Linked DNA regions of Homo sapiens: region 1 is linked to region 2. The links are contacts of gene promoters, found by promoter capture Hi-C in human tissues and cell types (Jung and others, 2019). All regions are on one chromosome and are shown on one strand. Each heading gives the region's core, a stretch centred on a gene start or on the middle of the fragment in contact. The rest is flanking DNA. Distances are from core to core; before and after follow the strand shown. Region 1 overlaps DNMBP (dynamin binding protein). Region 2 holds the start of ERLIN1 (ER lipid raft associated 1).

Region 1 (4,992 bases), core at 2,027-4,526, 270 kb after region 2:
AAAATGGGGACAATAATAGGGTGTTTTGAAGCTAAATTAATATTTGTAAAATACCTAGAACAGTGCATGACACACATAGTGCCATATAAATATTTGTTTTCTTTTCTTTTTGACACAGGGTCTCACTCTGTTGTCCAGGCTGGTGTGCAGTGGAGCTATCACAGATCACTGCAACCTCAACCTCGAAGGCCCAGGTGATCCTCCCACTTCAGCCTTCGGAGTAGCTGGGACTACAGGCACGTGCTACCACGCCCAGCTAATTTTGTTTGTTGTTTGTTTTGTAGAGACTGAGGGTCTCACTATGTTGCCCAGGCTGGTCTCGAACTCCTGGTTTCAAGTGATCCTCCCGCCTCTATCTCCCAAAATGCTGGAATTATAGTCATGAGCCACTGTGCTCAGCCAGTATGACTTTTTTTTTTTTAATTATTTTGTTCCTGTGAGGTTAAAAAGTACTGGTTAAGTTTGAGTCCCCATTGATCTCAACTTCTCCCCCAAATCCTAGGTCCTTCCCTGAGACAAACTCTGGGATGAATTTCGTGTGTTTTCCTTCCAGACCTTTCTCTCTACACTTACATAATTTTATATATATGCGTGTGTGTGTGTGTGTGTGTATGTATATATGTATATGTGTGTATATGTGTGTAGATGTATATATGTGTATATGTGTATATATATGTATATATATGTGTGTGTGTGTATATATATATATATATATATTTTTTTTTTTTTTTGAGACAGAGTTTCACACTTGTTGCCCAGGCTGGAGTGCAATGGTACGATCTCGGCTCACTGCAGCCTCTACCTCCCAGGTTCAAGCGATTTTCCTGCCTCAGCCTCCCAAGTAGCTGGGATTACAAGTGTGTGCCACCACACCAGGCTAATTTTTTTGTATTATTAGTATAGATGGGGTTTCACCATGTTGACCAGGCTGGTCTTAAACTCCTGACCTCAGGTGATCCACCCATCTCGGCCTCCCAGGGTGCTGGGATTACAGGCCTCACGTGAGCCACTGCGCCCAGCCTATATGTTTATATAGAAATATGTATGGGTTTTTGCAGATTTTCCTTTCTTTCGTCTCTTTTCCCCGTTCTCCATTTTCTTACAAAATTGTGCATTTTCTTAAAAAATTGTGGCATATTGTTGTGTGCCTTTCTTCTCCCTGGTTCATTTAAGTGTAAATGTTTGGAAGATGTGAGCGGGACTCCCAGTTCCTGTGAATCACTCCTGCCATCCCTGTTCTTGCTGTCCTGGGACTACCCAGCTGAAATCTGCTCTGTGATGGCTTTAGGGTTCATTGCCTAAAGGAGGGGGAGGTTTGGGGTCCCTTGGCTAAGCTGTGGGTGAAAGACTGCATAAAGAGGCTCAGGAGCAGACTAAACAGGCAACTGCTGCCCACTTCACAGTTTTGCCTCTCATCACAAGAGATGGCTGGGCCTTTGGAATTCTTTCCTCAAAAGGGCATTCCCCATTTCCCACGCAAAACAACAACAAAAAGGCTTAGCATGGGGTAGAAAAGGAAGAGATAATAATCTTAGATTCAAACTCCAGAGGTGGAATTTCGAGGGTTTTAGGACTAGGAAAGAACACCAAATAGAAAGGAAGGTGTTGATCCAGGTACTGCTGGGCCCGCTGGTGCACTTCTCAGTCCAGTACGCTTAGGGTTCCAGCTCCATCCTTTAGGACAAGCCCTGCTGTGATAGCCCGGGTGACTTGCGCGATTCATATGTAAATGTGGGAAGCCTGGGGGAAATGCCGACCCTATTCAAAGGAGTTTGGGGGGTTGTGGAGCATTCCAGAGCTCTGGGAAGATTCTGTCCCGCCTGCTTACCCTCAGGCCCACACCTCCACACACAGCCAGCTCTGGGCACTGCAGGTAGGTCCTGGGGTGTGGGAGCCAGCACAGAAGGAAGTGGAACAGGCAGCCTCTTCGTCCCTGTTCAAGGGCACCTGGGATCTGGCCGGGAGCTCAAAATTTTCCCCATTAGAGATAGATCCAGCTTTCTGAGGCAAGGGAAGGGCGCATGGCTCTGCTCTTTAACTCTGAAGTGTGTGTGATGGAGTTGTGGGAAGCCGTGGGCTAATGACTCCCTTCCTTCGAACTTTAGGAAGTGAGCCTGGTGATAATGTACTAACCGGAAAGGGCTGGGGGTGTCTTGAGAAGGAATGGAATCAGGACTTGGGGTGGGGGGTAAGCCACAATCACTGAAGGAACCCCACAACTAATTGTTTTATCACAGGAAGTAAATTTGTGCAACAGTCCCAGCTCCTTTAACACCTGCCGGGCTATCCTAGGAAGAAAGTAAGAGCTCGTCTGCACATTTTATTGTTCTCATAGAAAAGTGGAATTTTAGAGTCTGCACAGGGCACTTTTCTGCTTGGTACATTTTACCAAGTGTATTTACCATCTATCAGGTGCAGATGGCATATTCGGGCCCATTGTGGGAAAAGGACTTATGTTTGTTGGGTTATTACCTTGTTTAACTCCCTCAACTACTCTGCAAAGCAAGTATTATTATCCTCATTTTATAGATTGGGAAATTGAGGCCAAGAGATAAAAGTGGACATTTCCAAGGCTCCCCAGCTACATAGTGGGGAAGTGCAAGATTCAAAGCTTCTTTTTCCACCACAGCTGGCTGGGGGTGAAGGCCGCCTTCTCCCGCTTTGTTGTCCGGGATACTAAAAATTTAATTTTTTTAGAGACGGGTGTCTCACTATATTGCCCAGGCTGGTCTTGAACTCCTGGGCTCCAGCAGTCTTCCCACCTCAGACTCCCAAAGCGCTAGGATTACAGGCATGAGCCACCACGCATGGCCCAGATACTAAAATTTTAGAGCAGATATTTTTATTAGAATATATGTGGCATAAAGGAAAAAGTTTTTATACTTACAGTCATTTCAAGCCAGACTTTAAAATTTGACTTAATCTTTGAAAACTCTCTTTGAGTGTTAATAAATGTTTGTGGCACCTGAAGGTCACCTGTGTCTTCAGAAATACCTTGGGTTGCCAGGAGCAGTGACACATGCCTATAGTCCCAGCTACTTGGGAGGCTGAGGTGGGAGGATCGCTTGAGAGCCCCAGGAGTTTGAAACTAGTCTGGGTAACAACCCCCTCCTTTAAAGAGAGAGGAAGAGAAAGAGGAGGGAAGGAAACACCTAGGGTTTTATTAAAATTGCGGATACCCCGGTCCCACCCAGGTTTGCTGAATCTGAATCCCAGGGATGGTGTCCAGGAAACTGCAATATAGTGAAAACATCCCACAGGGGTTTTTAATCACACCAAAGTGTTTGGGTTTTTAAAGGCTGCTCAAGAGTTTATAAACCCCATTTTCGGGGGGTGGGGGCACAGGGGAAGGCACGCTGGTAGTTTAAAAGAATTGTTATTGTTTTTCTCCATTTTAAAGAAATAAAAATCTAATACATAGGCTGGCTGGCTTCTGATTGATGAGTAAGTGCTTGCTGGTACTTTGTGTTTTCAACTACTATAATTAGTAGAATTTTGATTCTCAGGAGAGTACACAGTGGTTTCCAGGGAGTTTTTAAGATTTGAAGCAAATAAGCCCCTGACCTTTTCTCATTGAGATTCCAGGCCAGGGAAACCAAATGGTGCAGGATTAAGTGCACAGGATTTGGATTTAAATATATTTAGGTTCTAAATCCACAACTGCCATTTACTCACTATATAACCTCAGACAAGTTTGTCAGCCTCTCCAAGCCTGGATTTTCTTACCTATTAAATGGGAGTAATAATACCTACTTAAAAATTCTGATGTGAGTATTAAATGAGTTCAGGGATATAATCTGTAAAGTACCTGGCATGTGATAGGAATTCAGTAAATGTTCTCCCTCTCCAGAGCTTTTTAGTCTTGTATTTAAAATGAGTTTCTATTCTCAACTTGGCACTAATGAGACCATATTTGGGATTGAAAGTCTGTTGCTTTGAGATCACAAAGAAAATTTAAAACAAGCCTATTAGAAATAAATTTTATATGTAACACAATGAATTTAGAATCATAATCGAACACTGATGAAATCAGGGTTATGCTTCAAGTTTTGCCATTCATTCTACCAAAAAGTTCGAGAAAGAGCTTTTTCTGTTATGTCTTAAGTTTTATTTTGAATAATACCAAATATACAGAAAATTGCAATAGTACAATGAAAACTCCTGTATACATTTTATACAAATTCACCCATATTTAACATTTTGCTGTTTTTATCTCATTCTCTGTCAATCCCCACTCTCCACATGCAGTTTTTTTTTCTTTAATGAACTAAGAGTACATTGCATATATTGTGCCCCTTAGTAAGCTTCAGTGTGTATTTTGTATGAACATGGATTTTTTTTTGAGATGGAGTCTTGCTCTGTTCTCCCAGGCTGGAGTGCAGTGGTGCAATCTTGGCTCACTGCAACCTCTGCCTCAGCCTCCTGAATAGCTGGAATTACAGGCAAAATACAAATTTTTGTATTTTTAGTAGAGATGGGGTTTCACCATGTTGGTCAGGCTGGTCTCGAACTTCTGACCTCAGGTGATCTGTCCGCCTCAGCCTCAGACTCCCAAAGTGCGGGGATGACAGGCGTGAGCCACTGCACCTGGCCAGATTTTTTTTTTACTCAGGCTGGAGTGCAGTGGCATAATCTCAGCTTACTGCAACCTCTGCCACCCAGGCTCAAGCCATCCTCCCACCTCAGCCTCCTGAGTAGCTGGGACTATAGGTGTGTGCCAGTCCATGTGCTGCTAATTTTTGTATTTTTTGTAGAGGTGAGGTTTCACCATGTTGCCCAGGCTGGTCTTGAACTCCAAGCTCAAGTGATCTACCCACCTCGGCCTCCCAAAGTGCTGGGATTATAGGCATGAGCCACCACACTTGGCCTAAAATGGTGATTTGCTGACTCCATTATTTCTTCTCTTATTTATCAGCTGACATTCTACCATAACAAAGAGTTTTCTCTTCTCCCCCATTTATTTATGTACTTACATATTATCAATATGTACTT
Region 2 (4,719 bases), core at 255-2,754:
GAAAACAGGGTATGGAGCAAGTTATTTTCCATTCTTTTTGCTTTTTGGAAGTTAAAATAGCTAAGCTCTGCAAATATCATTTATTTGGAACAGATAAGGTCCCAGACATTCCTAGATAATAAAAATCAAATGAATGATACAGGTAAGTGTATTTATTGAAGGGTGTGGGTAGAGTGGTCTGGGAAGTCTTGCTTTAATGAAGACGGATTGATTCTATTTACCTCTTCTTACTTCCACTACTAAGTAACCCTGGGCCTGCAGTTTCCTAACCACTTGACTTCCTTGCCAACAGTCTGTCTCCACTTTCAGCCGTTTTATAGATTCATTGGCCCTAAAGCACTGCTTTCCCATACTTCCCTACCCAAGAGGGCAGGGGTCCCCAAGCCCTGGGCCGCGGACCGGAACCAGACAGTGGCCTGTTAGGAACCAAGCCGGATAGCAGGAGGTGAGCGGCGGGCGAGTGAGCATTATCGCCTTGAGCTCTGCCTGCTGTCAGATTAGCGAGTGGCATCAGATTCTCATAGGCACGCGAACCCTATTGTGAACTGCACATGTGAGGTTTGCCGGCTCCCTGTGAGAATCTAATGCCTGATGATCTGAAGTGGAACAGTTTCATCCCCAACCCACACACACCCCCACCCCGTCCGCTGGGTTAGAGGACTTTACAACCCTAGTCCACCTTGTCCAGTTATAGTTCCACCTCTAGCCTTTCAAGGCTTAAACCATTAATGTCCTTAATTTCTCTTGTATTCATCTATCTCCCAACTATACCTTTTTCCTTCCCTTTTTTATTTTTGGCAATATGTGCCCATGGTTTTTTAATTTAAAACGAACAGAATATGTAGTGACGCCTACCATAGCACTCCTTCCCATCACACAAGCCTTCAAGGAAACTGAAGTACTTACTTTGGTCTCCCTGGAGGATTCCCTCCGCCTCCCGCCCCATGTGCTTAGCAATTCTGTTCCTGTAGTCTGGATGGCCTTCATAAAGCCCTCACTGGACCAGCATTCTGGCACATAATAGGAACACTTAAAAAACGAGAGAATGATGCCGTTATATCTAATATCTTCCTCTTCTGAACTTTCACAGCACTTTATTTGCAACAAGTTTAGTTGCTCCTGAAGGGCAGGATCTCTGCCGGAAGCAAGTGCGTGCCACACAGTGGGGCTCCGCATACACTGCAAAAGGACAAATAAACCGAACAGCTACCGTTTGAGAGTGAGCGAGTGGGTTCTCTGCACAAGAACAAACCAACCAGTCCCTTGTCCGAAAGGGCGTCTCCTTTTCTCTGCTTCGCTGCTCACTCCAGACTGCGGGCTGTCCTCTTCCGAAGCAGTTAACCAGCAGTGTACAGAAAGCGACTTGCCTCCAAAGGAGCCTGCGCGGCCCGCGGCTAGGAGAATTTTGTCCCATGCGCTCCCCGTCTCACTAGCCGCGGGCCGGGGCTACGCCGTGTGCGTCCCCGCGCAGCCGCAGTGCTGGGCGAGTGGGCGGGGCCGGCTGTTGGCGGCGGTTGGCTCGGCGCGGGAGTCGGCTGCACGTGCGGGCGGGGGCGATGCGTCACTGATCGGTGAGGCGCGGCCGAGGGGTCGGCTTTCCTCGCGAGCCTGCGGCTGGGCTTCTTCTCAGTTAGTGCCTTCCACCCGGGAGCGACCCTTGGGAGAGGGAGTTTCAGGAAGCTCACCGAGCAGGGGCGGCCCACTGGCCTCCGGGGGCGGAGGAGTTGGCAAGGGGTCAGCGGGCTCAGCCAGAAGGGAAGAATGAGGGGACAGGGGTACTGGACTCCCCGGCTCAGCCTGCGAGAGAGCGCCAAGTTTCCGGAGGGAGAGGGTAGAAACTGGAGGGGGTGGACCTGTCACTCACGGGACTGAGGGTCCTTTTCTCCCGCTCCCAGGAGGAACGAGAATGAATATGACTCAAGCCCGGGTTCTGGTGGCTGCAGTGGTGGGGTTGGTGGCTGTCCTGCTCTACGCCTCCATCCACAAGATTGAGGAGGGCCATCTGGCTGTGTACTACAGGTGAGCGGCATGTGCAGTCAGTTAGGGCTCTAGAGCAGATTAAAAGGGTACTCCAGAGTGGAGTCTGGGAAGTTGTTCCCTCTGCAACGTTCGGGGGCGCATGTCCCATCTCTAGGGAGAGCACGGGGGTCGAAGCGGGCTTTTGCGGAGCACCCTCCAGATGTTGGACAGTTTTAGTGCTATGTTCGTTTTGTTGCAGAGATTAAGTCTCCCTACGGTTATTCCTATACACAGCAAACTCAATTATTTGTAGAAAAATGAAGAAGGAAGAAAGGAAGTAGTCACTCTACCTCTAACTGAAGAGATGGATAAATTATAGTTCGTTCAACTGTACAGGCTTTAGTTTGCCGCTGTAGATGCTGTATGTTTATGGTTGTTTCTTAGACTTTTTCATTTAAAAGCTTCCAGTGTCTGGTTACGTCTTGTAACACCATGATGACTGTGATGGTGCTTATGTCCCTGGACCTCCAGGGACATAAGCACAACACTGATGGGCCATGCTCCTCCCTCCTTACTGTTGCTGTTCAAGTTGGGGACAGGAGTGGTGTGGGAGCTGTTGCTCTCTTGTTGAGCTCGCTTAGCTTTTCCTTCAGCCTAATTACCACAAGTTCCTTTTGATACAGACTAGTAAGAGAGGCCAGTTTGTGGAGAAATTGGGATAATGGTGTATTCAAAAAGAGCGTCAACTTTTTGCTTGTTTCCACTATCCCTCAAAACTGATATTTCTACTTTCAAATCCATCCTGAATCCTAGAAAAAGAGCAATTTTAATGGTATATCTTAGCAGATGGAGCTCTACATAAGAAATTACAGATTAGTCCAGATTTCCTTCCAGTTTAAAAGCATTGTCTTTCTGACAGTAAAACCAGAGAAAGGACATTTCAAGGAATGACTCAAAGAATTAGTAATGAACCTCAAACAGTTCATCTTTCCTTGTTATTATGACCTTGCAAATGTGTTTATATTTTCAAGACCGGTAGCTAAGTTCTATGAATTTACAAGGTGCAAAATAGGACTTTGTTTTCTTTGCTCCCCAAATGCCTCCTTTTTATAATTTCCAGGGCTTGCTTTCATAGTTTTCACATTCCAGGATTTGGTTAACAAGCCCTTATGCTATTTATTTGTATAGTCTTGTCACCCTTCATCTTTTCATGCTAATTTTTTGTTTTTATATAGAAATTTTATGTTCCCAGTATTTTAATTACCTTGTAGATAGATCGAAAGAATTATAAGCCTCAGAAATTTTCTCTTTACTTCAAAGTTTGCATTGTCTTTTTTTCAACCTGGTGATTAAATGTATTATATATTTTGATTTGGCTCTTGTTATGTACTATTAATGTACCTCTACTGAAAGCCATTAGAATTTTTTAAACAAATATTTCTCAGAAGGTTAAAGACCGAGGAGAATCCTTTGAACCTTAGAGCAGTGCTGGAGACCCAGAGGTACGGTTGGTTGAGCTTATGAAACAAGGTGTAACATTGGCAGTTTAATTTGATCTTTTTCCCTTTTTAGGTGTGGAGGTATTTTAAGCAGTTGTTCATTATGAGCAATTCATATTAGTGAGGCTTTAGTAGGTCAGCAGCATGAGCAAGAGTGAGTATTTATTATAGCATTTTAGATTTGGAAAGATAATTTTTCTTTTTATAATTTTGTCAAATTGAAACATCTTTTTGCAGGGGAGGAGCTTTACTAACTAGCCCCAGTGGACCAGGCTATCATATCATGTTGCCTTTCATTACTACGTTCAGATCTGTGCAGGTGAGTGATTCCTAGGGGAAGCCTCCATACCAGATAGACAGGCATGACAGGAGTTACCACACTTGTGGGTGGAGATAGATTTCCTTATTGCTTAAGCAGATGGTGGTATTTACTTAAATGCAGAAGTTAACGTTCAGAGTACAGTTGTTACAACACAAGTTATGATGTTAAACCACCTCACTTACTTGAAATGAATTAAAGGTATGAACCAGGAAGCTTGGAAGGACTGACTTCTACCATCTATATCGTGGTATATAGCAAATTTTCTGTTGCTGCTGTCACAATAAAAGTAAGAATTAGAAACACAACTAGACATACAAACCAGTGATTATGTGGTTTAGAACAGTGTTTAGTTTCCATAGAGGCAGGCTCCTGGGCTACTGTTAACATGGAGGATCAAAATTTTTATACACAGCCTTTCTGCCTCATGTTTTTTTGCCTGGTATATTAAGCACAATTTTATGTGGAACCTTAGTGAATGTTATATTTTGATGGCATCCCGGGATATTTGAAATAAGTGTCTAATCCTCGAAAAGTGTCTTGGCCATGGGAGACAATAAAATAAGTATCTTTCAATGTAACAAGATGACAAAACCAGGATTAGGCTGTGACCACTTTCGCAAGCCCAGTGTGATCATAAATCTTTGGATTCAGAAGTTTGTCTGCCATCTGCTGCTAATTTTTCAGGACTCAGGAAAATTCTGTGTTATTTAATCTTGTAATCTTATGTCTAGGCTTCCTGCTAAGTGAGAGTTTAATTATAAATTCTTAAATCCCCTAGGTTTTCTTCCTGTCCCCTTTTAGATGGCTTAGGGAAAGAATTGTGTCTACTGAAGTGAAATGTATTCTTCCCCTAATCAGACTGATTTCCATATGTTGTTCCATATTTATTTTACCCATTCTTTCCTTAGTTCATGCCATCACTTCTTTATCTGCCATCTC

The links. Contacts are between HindIII fragments. The study calls those that stand out against the background at their distance.
Region 1: a fragment that was not itself captured here is called in contact with the fragment with the promoter of ERLIN1 in region 2 in 2 of the 25 tissues and cell types used here (H1 embryonic stem cells and thymus).

Annotation. Positions count from the first base shown.
Region 1 is chr10:99,910,834-99,915,825 of GRCh38, reverse strand. All of the region lies in intron 4 of DNMBP (dynamin binding protein), which reads left to right. Among named protein-coding and RNA genes, the nearest start is that of DNMBP-AS1, 14 kb to the left of the region's middle. RefSeq lists enhancers at 1,305-1,927, 1,928-2,550. The HindIII fragment of the contact is 4,920 bases long and covers 817-4,992 here.
Region 2 is chr10:100,182,814-100,187,532 of GRCh38, reverse strand. It overlaps ERLIN1 (ER lipid raft associated 1), which reads left to right and starts at 1,504. Exons shown (of 11, transcript NM_006459.4): 1 at 1,504-2,019; 2 at 3,696-3,777. The coding sequence starts at 1,907. It also overlaps a transcript of CHUK not described here. RefSeq lists an enhancer at 1,137-1,286 and a silencer at 1,457-1,606. The HindIII fragment of the contact is 5,345 bases long and covers 1-3,207 here.